6 separate regions of the Homo sapiens genome follow, and regions 1, 2, 3, 5 and 6 are each linked to region 4. The links are contacts of gene promoters, found by promoter capture Hi-C in blood cells and fetal thymus (Javierre and others, 2016). All regions are on one chromosome and are shown on one strand. Each heading gives the region's core, a stretch centred on a gene start or on the middle of the fragment in contact. The rest is flanking DNA. Distances are from core to core; before and after follow the strand shown.

Region 1 (3,590 bases), core at 591-3,090, 790 kb after region 4:
CCACATCATGGGTGCAGATCAAAAATAAGCCAGTCAGGCATCCCTGCTGAAAACGTACGCAGCAGGATGACCCCTTTGTTCTTCTTAAAAATGAACTAATTCAAGACAGGCACTGCCTCTGGATCATTATTCATTAATGTATGCAACATTCCCTCTGCCGCACTCTTTCCTCTTTCTCTCTCTACTCTTCACTATAATTTTCATGTGGAAAAGTAAAAGAACGCCAGTTCTCTTGTAAACTGCATAATTGGGTTTAATATGCAGACGTGCCATTTCTAGGCATGTACGTTTTCTGCATTAATAGGAGTTATACGCAAAGCATTTAGAGATCACCTGTGGATAGGCTTGTTAATTAACGGAGTTAGAGCCTTATTTCATTCCATTTAAACCAGAGTAATTGAAATCAGCATAATCACCACTGCAGTATTCAGTACTTTCGCCCCTTTTCAAGGTTATTTTGGCAATTATGTTCTTGGCTGAGCATGTTAGTAAATGCTGCGGTTACTTCCTGTACTACTTGACTTTTCTTAATGCTGTGCCCTGTAGAATGTATTTTTCATTATTCCATTATTTTAAAAAGCTAGTAATAATTTGAGTCACCCTTCAGTTTTTTCAAAAAAAAAAATCTAATCCAGTCTACAAGTTGCTTGGGGAAAATGTCAGAAGATTAGGTTAAATCTGATCCTCCAATAGGTCATATGCTACTTTGTGAATAATTTTTTAAATGCATATATATATACTATCAAATTTAATATTAGTTGGATGCTAGTACATATTCTGAGGTTCCGGGACATTTGTTATTATATATTTATTTATAATACAAAGTTTTTTAAAATTTGAAAATGAATGTAAATATTCTCAATTTTATCAGATGGAAGAAACTAAACTACTTCAACCTGTAGACAAAAATAAAAAGCCCCTTGAAATTATTTTTTAATTTTTAAAAATCATTTTTACAGAAGATGAGAAATTACCATCTTTCACACTTTCTACTACTACTGGGAAAGAAAACTTCCTATTGCTGTTCTGCATAATTCTAGGATTAGAATGTAAAACCCAAGATGATATTGTAATGATTCTATTCCGTTGACTTATAATAAAGTATTTTCTTTCATCCAAAGTGATACTGCAGAGTGGCCCAATGATTTTTTCCCTATATGCCCATTTTCCTGGGTATAAATACAACATTTTCTTACAAGTAAATTAACACTAGGAGTTTATACTGTGTTTGATAGTTTGCCTTCACACATTTAGCCTCTTTCCACTTATACTTGGTACAGTTCCAACAACTAATATTTACTTATTTTTTTCCTATTTGCATATCTATATAAACATATTTCTGAAGACTGGTTTCACCAGCAATATACACTTCGTGAATAATTTTATCACCTGATATATTAACAATCTTACAGTTTTATTATAAAATTGGTATATGGCTCATGTTGCTGAATGTTTTTAAGGGATATGAGAATATTGCTTATTTAGCTCCTTAAGATGAAAATGAGGATGTATGCATGTTTCCATTCAGTATTGTTGTCTGCATTGTCTTTTTGTGGGGAGCGTTTGAAAATAATCATCTGTTCACATATTCTAACCAATGGTATTTGCAAAAACAAAGTTGATATTTACATATATTTTAAACCATTTTCCAGTGGCTTAGTAAATCTTATTTCGACATGCATTTTCTATCTATATTTGAGCAAGTTTTTTTTTGGAAACCTCTTCTGCACTGTGCTTTCCAGTTAAAATTGTCGTTGTCAAAGACAACTTGAAAACATTCTTTTGAATCAGGTCATCTATGAAGTATTTACATTTAATATCTCAATGAGAGAGAAAAAAGAGAGAGGTTCATCAATAATGATGATTTAAATTCACTGTGTTTATCAGTGTAAATGAACAATCAAAAAACCAGACATCCCTGGTATCTTCTGTACTATCCTACCCAGGAGAGCTCAGCAATAACCTACTTCAGCAATTCTAGCTAATACTGCCTTGCAAATTTGCCCAAATGCATTTCTGTTCATAGTCTATCCTGATTTGGTAATATGCAATTACAGAAAATGACCATTTTAATATAGAACAATTTTCTTGTAAATTACACAGTAAAAAATATTTGAAACATATTAAAATCAAGTGGATTTAGAATGATTATAGTTATGAATTACTGTAATTTGGTCTTACACAGCTAATTCCAAAAGACAGAACAGCCGTTTAGCAATTTCCATTCTCTAAATTTCTCATAATGGGATTTAATGAAAAAAATGAAATCATCGTGTTTTCCCTAAAACTCTCTCCTCCTCTTATATGTTCTATTTAAATAAATGAGCCACCACCCTTTCAGACACTCCAGTCAGGGAAACCCAGGAATCACAATTTCTTTCCTCTACTCCTTACTTCAATACTCATGTTCTCATAGATACCCAGGTGAATGGATCCAGTCCCACCCATCTCCTCCACCATCTGCTCCCACTTCAGATACTCACTACTCACTAGCCTTTGAGCCTCCTCATGAGGCACGTAGCCCACCAGACATACAGCCCTTATTGCATGTTCAGCATAGTGGCTACAAAGGTCTCTCTAAAATGCAAACCTAGCCATGCCTGGTGGCTCACAACTGTAAGCCCTTTGGGAGTCTGAGGCGGGAGGATCACTTGAACCAAGGAGTTTGAGACCAGCCTGGCCAACATGGTGAAACTCCATCTCTAATAAAAATACAAAAATTAGCCAGTCATGGTGGCACATGCCTGTAATCCCAGCTACTCAGGAGGCTGATGCAGGAGAATCACTTGAACCTGGGAGGTAGAAGTTGAAGTGAGCTGAGATTGTGCCACTGCACTCCTCAAGCCTGGGTGACAGAGCGAGACTCTGTCTCAAAAATAATTAAATAAATAAATACAATACAATACAATACAAATCTAACAGTGTCACATTTCTGCTTAAAATCCTGCAGTGGGGGCCGGGCACGGTGGCTCACTCCTGTAATCACAGCACTTTGGAAGGCGGAGGTGGACAGATCACTTGAGGTCAGAAGTTCGAGACCAGCCTGGCCAACATGATGAAACCCCGTCTCTACTAAAAATATAAAAAATTAGGTGGGCATGGTGCGCACCTGTAGTCCCAGGTACTCAAGAGGCTGAGGCACAAGAATCACTTGAACCGGGAGGCGGAGGTTGCAGTGAGCCGAGATCATGCCACTGCACTCCAGCCTGGGTGACAGAGTGAGATTTCATCTCAAAAAAAAAAAAAAAAAAAAATCCTGCAGTGGGTAAAATGTTGTTTACTGTAAATTCAAACTCCCTGGCATGGCACACAAGGCCCTTCATGCATGAGCAGCCCCTGGCCAACGTCTCCAGCCTCATCCCACACCGTTATGTCAGTTGCATCTTATTCTCCAGCCACAGACTGTCCCAGCCAACTGCCCTTCCAAATGTCTGTCCTCACCCTAGAATGTTATTCACTGCTCTTCCCCACCACCTGCCCCTCCTCCGTCTGCTCTTCCTTATCCTTCATGACTTAGTGTCATGATAGCCCCTTCAAGGAAGCCTTCTGTTAAAGAAAATAATATTCTGACACTCATTAAAGTGGTAAGG
Region 2 (3,271 bases), core at 644-3,143, 640 kb after region 4:
CAATTTACCCATGCAACAAACCTACACACATACCCCCCTGAACCAAAAAGTTGAAAAAGAAAAAAATAAATTGTATAAAAATGGAATATGGCAATTGTAAATAAGTGGTACTGCAAAAAGCAATAGAAATTAGAAAGGAATCAATGTGGACTGTGCATTTAAATAAAACATAGCTGAAGCAATGGGTTTGAGCCAGACCAGATGGGTAGGCAGGGTTTATATTGCAAGGGAATGAACTGAGGAGGCTTTCTGGACAAGAACAAACCTGGGAATGAACACTAGGAACTGACTGGGGATCTGGGATAAAGCAAACTAAACACAGAAGAAGTTTTGTACAGCTGAGAAAAAAGACAAAAATCAGTATAAGCTTCATTAGGAATGTATAGGATTCGTGGAGTGTAACCATAATGCCACTTAATTTTGTATTCTGTCTCTTTAAAATTCATTGAAGGGATTTCTTTCTCTGCCTGAGCTATATCTTGGGGCATGAGATGACTATGCAAATAAGTACCATGGATTCTTAAGTCACCAAACAGAATCTTCGTTCAGAAATTAGAATGTCCAAATGCATTTAATATGCAAAACTCCAAACTTGATTAAAGTTAAATTTTCTCAACTCCTCCAGTTGGAGCCTGCCTCAAACAAGAAGCCAGGAATGGAGATGTGGTCCTCATTACCTCCATCTCTCTCTCTCCCCATCATACTGAGACTGGGTTCTGATCCACCCTAGCAGCAGGAGTGTGGCGGAACTGAGGGCAAAAATAAAGGTGAAAGGAAGATATCCCTTGACCAGCATTGCTGTATGACGGTGTTGCACTCTCTGGGCCTGGCAAGTGTTTCAAGCTGCCTCTTGCTTTGTAAATGCCTACCTGGTTTGTGCAGAGGTTTCCATGAAAAAAAAAAAAAGACTGTGCTGCAATGATGCAGACTACCACCTTCCATTCACCCCTCGTGACTGCCCACCCCTCACAGACTGTCCCTGTTGAATCTCATTACACATCTAGTTGTTCATGACCTAGGATATTTATTCTGGGGTGAGCGTGTGGTGGGATTGCTCACCAGTAACTCAGAGATTACTATAAGGGAAGTAAAATCCAGTTCTTAACCTTTCTCTCCTGAGCCAAGGTTTCTACAGACTGATAGGAGGCCTAGGAAGGGTCTTAGGTCTATTTTGAGCCTCCATCCTTGACTAACTTATATATTTAGACATATTTAAAAACATAATATGTCATAATAATATTTGACATATTTAAAAACACATCTTAAGATGATTTTAAATGTCATTGTATTTAGATGCCATTGTTGCATCTAGACTTTTGGTAATAGGAAAAACCATCTTTGAAATTGACTGGGTTCATCACAGTGATCTGAATGTGTCTATACTTGTGTACTGAGATCACACACACACAAACCCTGAAGGAATGAGGGGAGTGATTTTGCCTAATGAATATAAATTTAGAATAAGGCAAACATTCTTAAGCTCTTTGTGCTATGGACTTTGCAGTATGGTAAAGCCTATAGACCTCCTTCTGAGGAAAAAAAAAGTTTTTCAAATGCATAAAATAAAATGCACATGATCCTAAAGGAAATAAATTATATTGAAGTATAGTTATAAAATAATTAAAAAGTGATATAGTAATGTCTGTTTCTCTTTTTTCCTTCTTTTTTTTGTTTTGCCTTCACTTGGCATGAACAAAATGTGTTTCTTTATTATATAATAAGAGTTAGTGTCAGGGCCAAGAACATTATATTTTAGAAGTATTGGTCCATGAAAATGGTATTCCATAATATCTCCTACAATTGAAATGTGATATGTGATATGACATACATGATTTCCGTTGGTGACACAGTTGGAGGTGTTGCAAATACTGCTGCAGTTTGTTTCATAAATTCCTAGTTAAGTAAAGTGCCACATGTCAGAGAACAGGGAAAACAAAGGTTTCTGAATTCCATCCTGGATAAAAAGCAATCTGCTTGCATATTGTCACTGCCTGTTTCAGTGAAATATTGCTAGTCTCTCCACTGAGGAGGTTTAGTCCATAGTATTTAATGAAAGATTTACCCATTCCTTGAATCTTGTTTACTGATTCCTCCCATCCCTTCTTTTCTTCCGGTAGATTGTCACAGTCTGTTTACAATGCTCAGTTCAGCCTGGCTTCCCTCATCAGCAAGGCGTGGTCCCTAGCTATTGAAAAATATTACTATTTCACAGGACAGCAGTTTTTTGTTTTATTTCTCCTAGCACTTTCCTGTGCATTGGGGCACTCATCTACACTGGATATGACTTTTGAAAGAACAGGAAGGGATCTATCAGGACCAACAGTTTTCCTTTTGCCTAATAAGATAATGATGGCACCAAAAATAAAATCCCTCCCTTCCCTCTGGAAATGCAGGCCTCCTGATGGGATTTCTACTTTGCCTCTCCAGCAGTGTGAAATGACCCAGGGAAAGACTTAATAAGTAGATGTCAGCCCCAGTGTAAGCAGAAAAAAAAAATGATGAATGGACCACTAGGCAACCCTATCCCAGCACAGTTTGGCCGTGGACTTTGCATTAGATTCTGTAGTTTTTCTGTCTTAAATATCATCAGGGATTCTCAAGTAGTTTCAGCCTGAGGCTATTACTCCTAATAATTGAGACTGATGAAAGGTCGTGGTATTTTTACAGTTTAGTTGTGGCACGCTATATATCACTTTGCTTCCGTCAAAGAAAATATTATACACTTCATTGGGAAAAGGTTTGATCCTGAGTTTTTCCTCTGCAAGTTGTCTACAATGTATTTACTTGGGTTTACCTACAAACTTTACATTTAAAATGCTCCAGAAAATTGCCTGGTACCAGAATGAGATCATTCAGGTAGAAAGCAAATGTTTCAGGATCATTAGGAAATTAATTACATGAAATGATTGACACGTTCCAGCTAGAGAGGAAGTGTTTCATACAGCCGTGCTTGTTTGAATACAACACTACAGATCCCTTGTGAAAAGCTGCTTACCGTGCTAAAATAGGAAAAGTGACTTAGGAGGAAAATCAACAGTGTTAGAAAATTGTCTAGTCAGGGAGTTTCAGCTCTGTGGTGATTAATTTTCTTTTCCTAGTTATGCCTAGTTATTGGTGGTTTCTGAGTTTCTATATAAAGGCTGGCACCCCAGCCATAAGTGCCTTGGAAATTTGTTGTTGTTGTTTTTTTTTTAATCAGGGAAACATTTTATTATTTGGCGGTTGGGGGGGGGGGAATGGGAGTGTACAAATTGAGGTGACTAGTAATAAA
Region 3 (3,684 bases), core at 612-3,111, 670 kb after region 4:
CTCACTGCAACCTCTGCCTTTCAGGTTCAAGCCATCCTCCCACCTCAGCTTCCACACTCAGCTAATTTTTGTATTTTTTTGATAGAGAAAGGTTTTTACCATGTTGATCCAGGCTGGTCTCAAACCCCTGACCTCAGGTGATCAGTCCTCCTCGGCCTCCCAAAGTGCTGAGGTTACACGTGTGAGCCACTGCACCCTGCCTAATGGTGCTATTTCTAATCTAGGTTTTGTACCACTAACCTGGATGTCTTCTACCTTGCCCAAGTTTGTCTGAGGAGCCCCAGAACAAATAGGACTATTGGTATTATTTCAGTACTAGATAAATTAAAATGTCCTCCTGGAGATGCTCAATGAACATTTGTTTGTCATTATCGAGTAACAAATATAAAATTAATGAATATTATTACTTCATGGATTCTTGAAGAATGTAACAAAAAAGGAAATGTACATCCGGATGAGGATTTAAGGTAAAATCTATGAAAATAAATTAGTTACTCATCACTTTATATTAGCAGATTAAAAAAAATGTAGCTGTCCTATAAATGAAGTGGTTTTTCCACTCACCTGTTTTGGGTGGACCATTTTTATGAAGTTGATTGTCTTGGTGATAAGACAGCATTAGAGAGAGACCATGAAGTGCTAGATTTTGAGTTCTGATCTATCTACATCTAGAAGATGATTTCAAATGTTAGCAACAAGAAATTAGATTGAACGTGATGCCAGTAGCTCTTCAGGAATCTACCTGCAAAACGTAGCATGTAGAGGACAGAGATGGGAAGATGGAGAAACGAGGATGATGTTTCTTTTTTCCTGCCTCCTCTCAGTGACTAGGCTTGACCACTAATAGGAGCACACTAAAGAGAGAGATCTGAATTACACAGGAAGCTTTATGAAATGCAGAGAACCAGCAGCTCAGCTCTGAGTGTAGATAGCAAAACAGAACACAACTGGAGAAAAACACATCCCATTTCTGACAAGAGCTCCCCATGATTCAAGTGGTACAAAGAGGGCTGGAGAGGAGGCAGTGCCCCTTGATATCTGGCATATTTGCCGTCTGGGGATGCCCTGGAAGGCCACATCCTTGGTAGAGTAGCAGTGTGCCCAGTGAGGTCACCTCCAGCCATGACCCCACAAGGCACAGCCCTCAAGTGGCTTGCAGACAGAAAACATCCAGGAGAATGCCAGCTGAGAAGAGAAAGGGGGATTTTTCCAAAGCATCCATGAAACATCCCAGAGAATAGGAAAAACAGGGCGAAAAGGATCTCAGGTGAGGTTCTGTGAGGGTCTTCAGGATGAGGATGAGGACCCTCACAGAAGGCTCCTGACACCACAGAGTTTGTGCTTTTTTGCAACAAGGGAGTTGGGCTCTGAAACTGCCTCACTAATTTAAGTCAGCCATTGTCTCAAGGCCTCCGGGCATTTGGTGAGCAGGCAAAAGAGCTCAGCTAGCCCAAGGATATAGTACTCTGAAGAAAACTGCAGGTGTTACACCTTAGAAACAAAGCTCTCAGAAGTTGGGGGTGGACACACAGAAACAGTAAAAGAAACTTCAGAGGATCAAGATAGAACCCAACCAACACTTGCTATGCCACCTTAGCCAGAAATAGCTGGGGCTAACTTTGCAGAAAATAGCATGGGTGCTGAGGGCCCGCAGTTCAGCAAATGGAGGCTAATAAGTTTACGTAACTGCAATGTCAGCATATACATGACCTCATTTATATTTGCAGGATGGTGAAGCCTTGGTGGGTTACATATGAATAAAAAAATTCAGAATTGGAAGGGATCTTGTAGATCATCTAGTGAGAACTCTTTCTTCCCATTCTGTAGCAAAGATACTGAAGTACCAAGAAAGATAAGTGATTTGCCAAAGAGAAGATAGCTAATGTGAAAGTGAATGCAAATGGAATCACTTGTGTTAAAAACAGACAAATAGGGCCAAGGAAGGCCATGAAAAAGGTTTCTCATGCGTGAATGCCTGATAACAAGGCTACCACAAAAGACTCTGCAAACACCACAACCTTGCACAAAGGCCATTGCAACCTTACAAACACACAAACAAAAAAAACAAAACTCACCAGGTCATTTGCCCAACAATTGCCTGTCCAACATCAAACTGACATCATACTTGTTGCTGATCCTTATAGCCAAGGATAATTTTCTCAAAAGAGCTACGTAACTTTTTTTTTAAGAAAAAACTTTGTCTTCCTTTACCTCCTTGAATACACATACAGTTTACTATGGAATGGGTATTTTCATTGCAATAACCATTACTGAATAAATATCATTCTGTTTTAGAGAGTCTCTCTCTGTCTGTTATTTAGGTTAACACTAACTAGTGGCAAAGCCAGGATTAAAATTCAAGTTTTCTGATCTCAAATTATGTTTTCTCTAATTATCCAAGACACATCATAATACAGAAAAATTTTGTAATTTGAGGATTTGCAATGCCTACCCTGAAAACATGTCAAGTATGTTGTGCTCCTTTCCGTGTCTTATGACAGAGTGTTGGCACTGTGATTTTATTACATTTACATTTAATCTACTCTTGTTCATATTATTACATTACTTTATGTTATCCTGAACACAAACTATTTTAATATCCATCTGTATTTACTAGTGACTTTCCAGGTAACATAATAGGAAAATGCAAAGCTCAAATTGCTGGTGTTGCTGAATGGGGGTGATAAAGAATACCACGTTTCCTTGTCTTCGCAGGGCTAGATTTACTGGAATCAATCTATTTCCTTTTTGAGAAATTGGGCAGCTGATCTCTGACTCCCTGGCCCATTGTTTTCTTGGGCTCTGATAGAGATTATTGCATAGTTTATTAAGCTTACTTCCCCCAAAAGCTGAATGTGATGTAATAGTGCCATCTGTCACCTTTTGTAGAAGGCAGAGAGGAAAAGCAATGCCTTAGGAAGCCTGAGGTTGATTATAACAGGTCCTGAAATACAGCTGTGGCTTCAGGTATTAAGGCCAATGGGCTGCTCTGTGCGGTGCAAAACGATGACAGAGCCTGGAGTGTTCTGGGCCATGGCCAGGGAGGAAAGGCCAGCAGAATAGCAAAAATAAACCTGCTGAGTGACCCTGAAATACCTGGTGCAGAGCCACATTCCTCTCAAGGTGAGCCTGGCTTTTCCTTGCCCTGGTTATCACATGGCCAGGGAGGGTGCTCTCTGTGGTGTCAAGACTATTCTTAGGCCTGATTCAAAGGGAACATATGAGGTCACAGAAAGTAGGTTTGGATACAGGACCAAATCTGCCATTGAATTCCAAATCTGTCACAGATTCTAAGATGTTATCATTTAACTATGCCATGCCTCAGCTTACCCATTTGATAGTGTAGAGTACAAGAATACGATGAAAATATGTGCCAGAACATTACACACAAACACATCTCTCTATATAGACTTCATACATATATAGCTTGCTTAAGACTGGGATCAATGAGGATATCAGAAATTTAGAAAACCTAGTCTCCTTGGGATAGCACTAATACTTCAATTTTTTTCTCCATAGATTATTTTGTCTTTCTTTTATTTCTTCCTTCCCTGGCCATGCTCTATTTTGGTGTGTGCTGAGTGCTGCATTCATTTTCTTATTTTATTTATCAAAATGTTTTCAGTAAATACATGTAGGATTTCTGTATTAAAGTATTACAAAATAAATTCCATCTCTTATAAT
Region 4 (3,213 bases), core at 515-3,014:
ACTCAAATTATAGATTAACCAGGTTTAGATGAGGCTGCATGACGACCGGGAACAGGAAGGGGAGAGGAGAAACGAGAGGCTCCCAGGCTTGGGTGGGGAGGAGCCCCTCTGCAGATGCCCAATCCCCCTAATTTACGTATCGCACACCCCTGAATGGCGCCTATGGTTCTTTTTCTCCTTCATCATCATCATCTTCTTTTTCTTTTTTTACTACGCTTTGCAACCTACCTTGGTACCCTCAACCCTTCTACCCCCACCTTCCCTCTGCAGTGCAAGGCTTGAAAAACAGGCCATCCCACCAATCAGCAGGCCTCCCCGGGAAACTCGCTCCGCCCCTCAGCCGCATTGGGCCGAGGCGCGCTCCCCCGCGGCCCGCCGGGTCCCAGCCACTGAGCATGCCCAGCGCCTCGACTGCTGAGTGCCCAGCCAGCATCCTGCAGTGCCTGGGAGCCTGAGGCCGAGGAGGGTCCCGGCGTAGTAAAGGGGCGGCAACCCCAAACGGGCCAGGCATCAAAATGAGACAGCATTAAACCGAGTGACATCTCTGTGGGTCCTTAGTGCCAGGCGAGCAAGCAGGGACAAACTGCTTGTTTATAGGTCGGCTTAAAAAATAAAAAAACTCTGGGGAGCGTTTGTTTGTGGGGAGACTGATACCGCAAGGTGACCCTGAAAGGGGCGCTTCAAGTAGACCCAGGCTGCTGATCTGGTCCACTCATGAAGTAACCATTTTCCTGTACAGTTGAGCTGGCACCATCCTTGTTTTCTCCCTGTTATCCTTGTGGTCAAGGTTAAAAACTTATAGGGTGGTTCAATGGGTGTGGGAGCTGTGTGTGAAACAAACATTTCAGCCAATATTTGCACAGTAGGGTTTTGGCCTTATGAACCCTCTGAAGGTCCCTAACAGCTTTTTAAAGTCACGGATAGACTTCGGAATATGATAAGGGACCTCTCATTTCCCCTCCCCCATGCCCTCAGCCTTAGGTGTGAGTCCCCCCGTCACACGGATGGGCAAGGGGAGCAGGAGAAAAGGTGATATTTACATTTTCTCCCTACTTGATCAGCAACTAATTCCACAGCGCCGGACGTGAGACACTTCCTGGGGATCCCTGTTCTCCTTTTGTAGTGACCATAACTGCCCCCAGTCACTGCCCTTGGGCGTCCCTCTGTTCCTTCCAGGTACCTCACGGCAGCAAATCTGGGGATCCCAAGGTGGAAGGCTGGCCCAGAAGTCCTTTAGAAAAACCTTAAAAAATACAGATCCCCTCACCATGGCCTATCGCCCTGAAGCCGAAATCTAGCTTTTAAATTTCCTGGGGGAAACAGCCTTGACTAGAAACCTCCCTCCCGTGGGTCAGTCTTACCTGATAGGTAAGAGGCAGCCCAGCTCCGGCGCCCCCGCCTCCCCCCGGCCTCCCACTCGGGGCTCTGTAGCCGCAGTGCCCCCCCGTGGCCCCCCACCCTCACTCCTGCGTCTTCCCGAGCTCGCCCCCTCCCGTTTTCCCAGACTCCCCTCGTGCTTTCGGGTAGCCACCCAAACACCCCCGCCTGCGCCCGCCGCGGGGATTCCTGCGGGCCGGGGGCGCCCCGGTTGGCGCGCGTGTAGGGAGGCGCTGCGCCGGAGCTGGCGGCCGCGCAGGGGCGCTGTCCTAGCGCTGCGCCGGGGTCGGCGCGGGCGCCGCTGCAGCACGGCTGGGGGGCGGAGAGGGGCGGGCGCGGGGCGGGCTCGGCCCGGAATGTAGAGACCCGGGCGGGAGCCTCCCGGCGGCGGCTGCCCGGCTGCCGAGCGCGGAGGCTCCGTCACGTGTTTTTCTCCTCCGAGTGAGACGGCGGCGCGGTCGGAGGGGGCCGGCGCGCAGAGCCAGACGCCGCCGCTTGTTTTGGTTGGGGCTCTCGGCAACTCTCCGAGGAGGAGGAGGAGGAGGGAGGAGGGGAGAAGTAACTGCAGCGGCAGCGCCTCCCGAGGAACAGGCGTCTTCCCCGAACCCTTCCCAAACCTCCCCCATCCCCTCTCGCCCTTGTCCCCTCCCCTCCTCCCCAGCCGCCTGGAGCGAGGGGCAGGGATGAGTCTGTCCCTCCGGCCGGTCCCCAGCTGCAGTGGCTGCCCGGTATCGTTTCGCATGGAAAAGCCACTTTCTCCACCCGCCGAGATGGGCCCGGATGGGGGCTGCAGAGGACGCGCCCGCGGGCGGCGGCAGCAGCAGCAGCAGCAGCAGCAGCAACAGCAACAGCCGCAGCGCCGCGGTCTCTGCGACTGAGCTGGTATTTGGGCGGCTGGTGGCGGCTGGGACGGTTGGGGGGTGGGAGGAGGCGAAGGAGGAGGGAGAACCCCGTGCAACGTTGGGACTTGGCAACCCGCCTCCCCCTGCCCAAGGATATTTAATTTGCCTCGGGAATCGCTGCTTCCAGAGGGGAACTCAGGAGGGAAGGCGCGCGCGCGCGCGCGCTCCTGGAGGGGCACCGCAGGGACCCCCGACTGTCGCCTCCCTGTGCCGGACTCCAGCCGGGGCGACGAGAGATGCATCTTCGCTCCTTCCTGGTGGCGGCGGCGGCTGAGAGGAGACTTGGCTCTCGGAGGATCGGGGCTGCCCTCACCCCGGACGCACTGCCTCCCCGCCGGGCGTGAAGCGCCCGAAAACTCCGGTCGGGCTCTCTCCTGGGCTCAGCAGCTGCGTCCTCCTTCAGCTGCCCCTCCCCGGCGCGGGGGGCGGCGTGGATTTCAGAGTCGGGGTTTCTGCTGCCTCCAGCCCTGTTTGCATGTGCCGGGCCGCGGCGAGGAGCCTCCGCCCCCCACCCGGTTGTTTTTCGGAGCCTCCCTCTGCTCAGCGTTGGTGGTGGCGGTGGCAGCATGGCGAGCCCTCCGGAGAGCGATGGCTTCTCGGACGTGCGCAAGGTGGGCTACCTGCGCAAACCCAAGAGCATGCACAAACGCTTCTTCGTACTGCGCGCGGCCAGCGAGGCTGGGGGCCCGGCGCGCCTCGAGTACTACGAGAACGAGAAGAAGTGGCGGCACAAGTCGAGCGCCCCCAAACGCTCGATCCCCCTTGAGAGCTGCTTCAACATCAACAAGCGGGCTGACTCCAAGAACAAGCACCTGGTGGCTCTCTACACCCGGGACGAGCACTTTGCCATCGCGGCGGACAGCGAGGCCGAGCAAGACAGCTGGTACCAGGCTCTCCTACAGCTGCACAACCGTGCTAAGGGCCACCACGACGG
Region 5 (3,446 bases), core at 307-2,806, 740 kb after region 4:
AATATTTATTGAAGGGAAAGATTTTCACTTCACCTATCCTGAGCTGGTAGCCTGTAGTCCTGCCTTTTCCAAAAGCTAAGCACCTTCTCTCTTTATTGCTCACCTCCTCACCACTCCTTGGCTGCTGTTGTGAATGGCTTCAAGATTAACAGTGGGGGAGGAGTTAAGGGGAGGGACAAGAGATAAAGAAGGTTCTTATGTAACTGATAATGAGAACATGCTTCATGCTCTGAGGTCTTGGCAGATTTTTAAAACTGTCTCCACCTATCATGGGAGCTTTCCTGAGTTTCTCAGCATTTCCACTGGAGTAGTCAACTGTGCTTTCTATGATACAGGTGTTGCAACTTTATCTCGTCCTCTGGACTCCCATTAGCCTCTGGTTTCTGACAGTCCTTTTACATCATGTCTCACTGTTGGTCCTATCATTCTTTAAGATGGTCTTTTTAGAGAATGTCAGGTGTCTCTGTCCTTGCATGGTCCATCTGTAGACAATAAGAAAAACTCCTGAATTATTGTAGAATTGTAGCTAACTCAAACATAGCTGAGCACTCTTTTTATGTCCTACAGTTTACAACTAATAGCTGTAGATTCTTGCCTTTAGACTCTTTCGGCTTTTGTCAGGCACACGTCCACTATATACCACCAAACTCCTGGCTATATTGAAGCTTATGTCTTGTAATGAGGGGCAAAGAGTTGGGTTGGAAGATGGACTCACAGCACTCTGCCAATTACCCAATAATTTCTTTGAAAAGGAAAGATCTGTTCTGATCATCATTGCCTTGATCATCTTATGTATTTCGTATAGAAGATATACATTTTATATTCTCACTGCTCTCGGTCACCTACTTTGAATTACTTATAAGCATGCCTGCCTTATCCCTTCTATTGTTGGCTTGGTTCAATTTAACATCCAGTTTCATGAGCTTGTTCCTTTTGTGAGCAGAAAAATAAAAAAAGAGAGAGAAGAGAAAGAAGGCATTGTTTTTCTTTGGAAGCACCCACAGCACTGGGAACAAATGTGATTCCCATCTCCTTTTCCCAAATGGAAGAGATGGTAAAGATTGAAGAAGAAGGAAGCTTCCTTATCACCACTTCTGGGCTGGGAATCCTTCCTAGGTAGAAAAATTCCAAGAGGAAAGGGCATCAAGCAGTTGCCAGACTGATGGTTTTCTACCCAGTAGCTACTTTTCTCCTTTCTAATAAATTTGATTTTGAAAGGGGCAGCAATAAGCCCCATTTAGAAAATAAACAAACATGCAAACAAACAAACTTGCATTTCTTAGACTTATTTGCATAATGGGTGAATAAAATCCACCTTGCACTTGTTGACTTGGATTTCTGAAAAAACAGTGCTTAAGAGCCTATTCAGCCATTGGCACTTCCCTTCTGCCTCCTTCCAGCCTGGACTACTAACTTGCCACTAGGGTTGGAGCAGCCATCTTGAAACAATAATTTAACAACCAAAAGAATCATAGGGCTTTCCAGTTGATGTTCCCAAGTCTTAAATACCTGTTTCCAGACTTCTTGTTACAAAAGAAAAATGTCAACCCTCATTTGTTTAAGTATTTTTTGGTCTCTTTTACAGCCAAATATTTTTCTTAAATTATGTAGTAGCTGTGAGACTTTGGGCAGGTTTTATAATATCTGTGGACCTCTGTTTCCTTATTTGTAAAACGGAAATTTTACCCATCTCAGAAATATTTTGAAGATTAAAAAAATACCATGGATGGAGAGTGTTAAGCATAGTTCCTGGTGTACTATAGTGAATAAATATAAAATTACTACTTCTCTCCATATAAGTATGACTATTTCTCAAATCCAATTTAGATTCTAAATCAGGAAAATATAGGCTGTGGATGAGAAGAGTGGAGTACATTTTTAAAAATCACTGTAAGTACATTAGAGTTTTTTTCTTATTAACTCTTATTTGTAAACTTTGGGGAAAAAAATGAAGATGTACCCAAGTAAGTCAGCCAAATCCATTCCACATAATTCTGTATAACAAAAGCAGATTATTTGGATGAAAGAAGCTTATATCTTAAATTTTAGAAATTATGGGGGTTATTTGAATCCATTCTAATTCAAGAAGATTTTTTCATTATCATATTTACTTTTGTAAATGTAGATGTGATGTGATAAAATTATAATATTTCTAACTGAAAATCTCATCTTCCAACAAATGTACACTGCCACAGATGGTAACTGCCTTGGCTGTGGCCACATAGGTTAACATATATGCATGTGGATGTGTGTATATCCATGAATATATGCCTATAAAATTTTGGGTTGAAATGAGATCCCTTGTCTATTAATACTTAACACACGGTACTTCTGAAACAAGGCCCTAAAATCAAGGGAAGACGATGACTTGTTATTAACTCTCATGCTTACCAATTAACAACTCAAGCAAATGCTAGCTTTCTCCCCAGATTTAATCATTCCTTTCTTTCTTTTTTTTTTTTTTTTTAACTTTGCTTGGTTTCAGAATCCTCTAGGAGTCCTACCATGAAACCTTCATGTCCACGGCTTAATATTTTATACCATCTTGTTGTCAAACACTTTTTAAGGCTTACTTCTACAGAGTACCCTCTTCCTAACTACTGACTTTAGCATTGACCTGCATCTTGCTAGGCAATTGCTGTCCATAGTTGGAAAAGGTCGTAGTGAAAAAGATTATGTGCCATGGTCAAGAACTTGTAAAAATTTCCTTAATGCCTTCTTTTTCATCTTTAGGCCTACCAAGGATGTAGATACTTGATTCTTCCATAACATACACAAACAAATGGTTATAAGTCAGCTATTAAATCTTTTCATCAATATCATTCTTAAGGTCTTTATAATGGAAACTTAAATTTTCCATTGGCACCTAAGGTATCAAATAAATCATGATATCTGATTCTAGAGAGCTCTGGGCTTGAAAGGCCTTGGCAGGACTCATGTCACGGATGTGTAGTCTCACGCAGGGCCCTGCACTGGGCTTTAGTTTAATGCTCTGCTGTCATCATCTTGAAATTTTTAATTTGTGAACAAGGGCTCAGCATTTTCGTCTTGCACTGGGCCTTGCAAATTATGTAGCTGGTCCTGGGCTCAGTTTTTGACTACTTCTATTCAGTTGGAACCATAAGTTCTCTTACAATCAGTTGATTTTCAGAGGCTAAGTCTCTGGCAGTAAAGTTTCCCAATGGACTTTCTTTCTATTTTAGGATTCCAATATTACATTAGCAAACAAGTCCTTAGGGCTTTGGATTTATACCAGCGTTTTATAATTGACTTTGTCTTTTACAGTAAAAATAAAGTTTGTGCATCTGCCTATTATTTAAAACCACCTTCTGCATGGTAACAATTACTTTATTTTAAACAGATTCTCTTAATTTATATAAAGCATTTTTTCTCTTCTTTCCTCTACACATCTAAGAGTCATATTAATTGCAATTCCAATTTAAAAT
Region 6 (3,540 bases), core at 634-3,133, 720 kb after region 4:
ATTTAGAAGACAGAAGGTTAGAGAGCTCTCTAAACCTGTCCAGAAACAAATTCATCCTCTATATGGCATGAACAGAGAAGTGTATTTACATTTGCTTTATATTCATTTTTAAGTGACCTTTTTCATGTAAATTTCCCTGTAATTGTATAAATACTTAAATTAAGATTTTCTATTTTACCTTAATTTTCATTAAATTCTTATCTCAGTATTCTCAAAATACATTATTTCTCCTAGGAAAATATTGTGCTTAAGCATTTGTCTGATAGAGTTTCAGATAAAATGATACCCACTTAAATTTTCTCCTAAATCTGTGAGTCAGTTTCAAAAACTAACCCTGCTTTGTGTGCTTGGCTTAGATAAATGGTCACATTCATGCCAGAGCTGGTCGTATCATTGTTCTTGGTCAAATTCTTTTGACATTCAGTCAAAGCATGATGAAGGTCTCCAAAATATTATAGAGTAAGATATTAATCTGGTAGATAAGGGGACCCAGGAAAATCACACTCAAATAAAGCACCCAGAACTATCAGCTTATTGTAAGAATTCCAAGTTAAACACATGATCTGTTATTATTCAGCATTTAGAAACACCTGAATCTCTGAGCTTCACTTATAATAATTTGGAAGGAGACCACTGTATGTCCATCCTGATGAGTATTTAATGTAAACCAAGAAGTAGATCCAGGGACTGGTCAAATAGGATAGTGACTCAAACCAGGTGTTGATAATGTAGATGAGCAGCCAGGAGCAAGAGTACCCAAGACCAAGTGCAGATTCTGACCCTGAAAAATATCCATAGTTAAAAGGATGAAGAACCTGAATCAGTAAAGGAAGTCAAAAGTAAGCAATCACATAAGGGCCGGAGTGGAATATCAAAAAGGTAGAAACAGAGGCTGAAATGAATCAACACAATTTAAGACTTTTGCCATGCACAGCCTAGAATGGCAAAAGAATACTATTCCCTTACAAGTGTAGGCCAGATGGCATGTGGATTACCGTGGTTTAAAGCACAGGAAGGCAATCCATGTAGATTGGATGCTACTAGTAGCTTCCTAAGTAAGCCAAATCTCTTCTTCCCTACCAGCCTCATAAGAACCTCCTATGCTGGATTAGGCAGGAGATACAGGGAAGGGAAATTGTATGATACTGGAATGCAACTCAACGTCCAAGCCACGGCTCAATTCAAAACCCAGTAACCAGCTATTTTAAGGATTATTTAGGAATTTAAATGGAAACATTCTAATGAAATGGAAACCCTATGCCATCCATAAGATTCAAATTCTACATTTTATTAACTTGACACTTGTATCATGTGATAAAAATAGCTGATGAATTAGGTTATACCTATCTCCTGCTGAGATTTCTATAAAGATTTCTACCTGTAGAAAAAAGATGTCCAAATTATGAATTGTTAGAGTGATGCAGAATTTTTCTTGGCCCCCTCACTGGACTCAGAGCAAGAGTGCCCCTCTCTGCTTGGCCTGCTGTGCTCCTTTATGGGAGGGAGCATGTGAGAGAGCAAATGCGGGACCCAGCTGGCTGCTCCAGGCACTGACACAGGAGCAAGCTCCATGCAGGGCCTGTGGTCAGACCAGGCATGTCGCCTTGAGGGGAACGTGGTGGTGTCCAGGTGAGGGTACCTGTGACTCCAAAGTCCCAGAGGGGGTGTTACAGTGCTCCTTTAGTTCTACTGTCCTTGGACGGCGGTGTGTTAGCAGCTCATTTGGCCCCTTGCCTCATCATGAGAGGTAGCTGCCCTCTACCAGTGATAGCAAAGGGCCAGTGTGACAGCCTTTCTGGGTACCCACACTCAGTGGGTCTTGAGCTCTTGTCCAGCATCTAAGAAGAATGAGGTCACATGGATGGTTGAAGGATGGTGAAGGTGGAGAATTTTCTTGAGCAGTAAAAATGGTTCTCAGTGTAGAGGGTTGGTGGAGAGAGGATGGGAAGCGCAGGTTGTCTTCCCCAGAGTCAGATTGTTCCTTCCCTGAAGTCAAGCCATCTCCTTTCCTGAAGTTAGGCCATATTCTCCTCTACTGACTGAGCCTGTGGTCTTTATAGGACAGGACGGGTAGAGCATGCTGACGGTTTGTGAGTGTGCACAAAAATTTAAAGCAAAGACACCACTCAAAGGTGGGAATGACAGTATAGAAAACCAATTAGGAAAGGGTAGGTATATGTAAAATAGGTGAAGAGGGGAGATCAATCAGAGGAAAGCATGCCAAACAGGAAGACAAATTCTTAATCTGTTCTGAGTATTTAAGTTTTGGCTTGGCTTTCAGGCTTTAAAACATCTTTGGACTAGAGGTGGGGTTTTACTGGGTACCCACCCCTATCTGCCTATGCATTTGGCTGCCTCCTGTCACTATCAATAGCATTATATATACATATTTTAGGTAAATATGTGAATCAAATGAAAGCTGTATTTAATCTACATTGCCAAAGTATCTAGAGAAAACAATGGTTCACAGAATAGTGACACATGAGGTAGGCATGGCCTCATGTTTGGATTCGGATCAAGCCAGGTCATTTGCTAACTCAAAGGATTGGAAAGACCTTAGAAGTCACGAAATTCAACGTGCTCTGATGCTTGACTGTCCCTCGCCCTTCTCCCCAACCCACATGATCTAGATCTGCTTTACCACTCTCCCTGAGACTGTAAACTATTCATATAGTTTCTCCTGAAGTACACCACTCGATTTTAGAGAACCAAATTCTTAGAAAGGCCTTTCTTGTTTTAACTAAATTATATCTCCCTATAAATATCTTGCTTTACTCCTGGGTCTGCCCTTTGGGTCCAACCAGAAAAACTCTCAAAACAGGGAATATTAGTTTTTATGTTTTTGGCTCTTTGCTTACAATTCAGCTTTTCAGACATTTGTAAATCCTGTCATAAACCTCTTTATTTAGCCCCAGTTTCTTCAATATTTACTCATGTTTTCTAATTGCTGCTAACTTCCCTCTCATCTGGGCCCTCTTCTCTGGCTAGACATGCTCTATTTTCTGATGTAGATTCCCTAACTTCCCATGATGCTCCCAAAATTTATACAACTTCCAACAATTTCTCCCACATCAATGGTTTTGAACTGGGCCAGAATTTCTTCTGATCTTAAAATCCTGTTCTTTGTACCAGGATTTCAGGTCTAATCCAATCTCTGCTGATTTCTAAAAGCAGCAATCTGTCAAGTTTTCACCACCACTTTCTGCTTTCCCTTTCTGTATCACAGGCCCAGTTTTAAACTTCTGTGACTTGTGACTCACATTGGCAATGTCAGGGAAAGACCTCTTCAAGACAACCTGTAAGCTACTTTTGAGACTCACATTACTGCTCAGGATAACACATCACCTTGATAGCAGAGACAAACTTTAATTTGTAATAGCCTTACATTGAACCGAGGCCAAAGTGAATAGTGATGCAATAGCTGTACCCCTAAATTACAGTATGTCCAAATGTGTTCATCCTCGATCAATGTGTTTTGGACAAGCTATAAATGTGTCAGAACATTTTCTCATTATCAGCTTGTCAACTAATCATATTCAA

Evidence for each region. Contacts are between HindIII fragments. The CHiCAGO score rates a contact against its expected background, and 5 or more counts as called.
Region 1: a fragment that was not itself captured here is called in contact with the fragment with the promoter of IRS1 in region 4 in 1 of 17 cell types (M2 macrophages); the score reaches 6.4 in M2 macrophages.
Region 2: a fragment that was not itself captured here is called in contact with the fragment with the promoter of IRS1 in region 4 in 1 of 17 cell types (M1 macrophages); the score reaches 5.2 in M1 macrophages.
Region 3: a fragment that was not itself captured here is called in contact with the fragment with the promoter of IRS1 in region 4 in 3 of 17 cell types (M2 macrophages, M0 macrophages and M1 macrophages); the score reaches 10.4 in M2 macrophages.
Region 5: a contact is called between a fragment that was not itself captured here and the fragment with the promoter of IRS1 in region 4, in 3 of 17 cell types (M2 macrophages, monocytes and M1 macrophages). The highest score is 5.8, in M2 macrophages.
Region 6: a contact is called between a fragment that was not itself captured here and the fragment with the promoter of IRS1 in region 4, in 1 of 17 cell types (M0 macrophages). The highest score is 5.4, in M0 macrophages.

The regions. Positions count from the first base shown.
Region 1 is chr2:226,008,762-226,012,351 of GRCh38, reverse strand. No RefSeq gene overlaps it. Among named protein-coding and RNA genes, the nearest start is that of NYAP2, 610 kb to the right of the region's middle. The HindIII fragment of the contact is 4,284 bases long and covers 1-3,590 here.
Region 2 is chr2:226,154,524-226,157,794 of GRCh38, reverse strand. All of the region lies in intron 2 of LOC646736 (a long non-coding RNA gene), which reads right to left. Among named protein-coding and RNA genes, the nearest start is that of MIR5702, 500 kb to the left of the region's middle. The HindIII fragment of the contact is 3,048 bases long and covers 370-3,271 here.
Region 3 is chr2:226,130,841-226,134,524 of GRCh38, reverse strand. No RefSeq gene overlaps it. Among named protein-coding and RNA genes, the nearest start is that of MIR5702, 530 kb to the left of the region's middle. The HindIII fragment of the contact is 1,947 bases long and covers 888-2,834 here.
Region 4 is chr2:226,798,371-226,801,583 of GRCh38, reverse strand. It overlaps IRS1 (insulin receptor substrate 1), which reads left to right and starts at 1,764. Exons shown (of 2, transcript NM_005544.3): 1 at 1,764-3,213. The coding sequence starts at 2,846. It also overlaps a transcript of RHBDD1 not described here. RefSeq lists silencers at 226-435, 1,396-1,465, 1,486-1,905, 2,896-2,945. The HindIII fragment of the contact is 8,747 bases long and covers 1-3,213 here.
Region 5 is chr2:226,054,288-226,057,733 of GRCh38, reverse strand. No RefSeq gene overlaps it. Among named protein-coding and RNA genes, the nearest start is that of MIR5702, 600 kb to the left of the region's middle. The HindIII fragment of the contact is 953 bases long and covers 1,080-2,032 here.
Region 6 is chr2:226,073,570-226,077,109 of GRCh38, reverse strand. No RefSeq gene overlaps it. Among named protein-coding and RNA genes, the nearest start is that of MIR5702, 580 kb to the left of the region's middle. The HindIII fragment of the contact is 3,937 bases long and covers 1-3,540 here.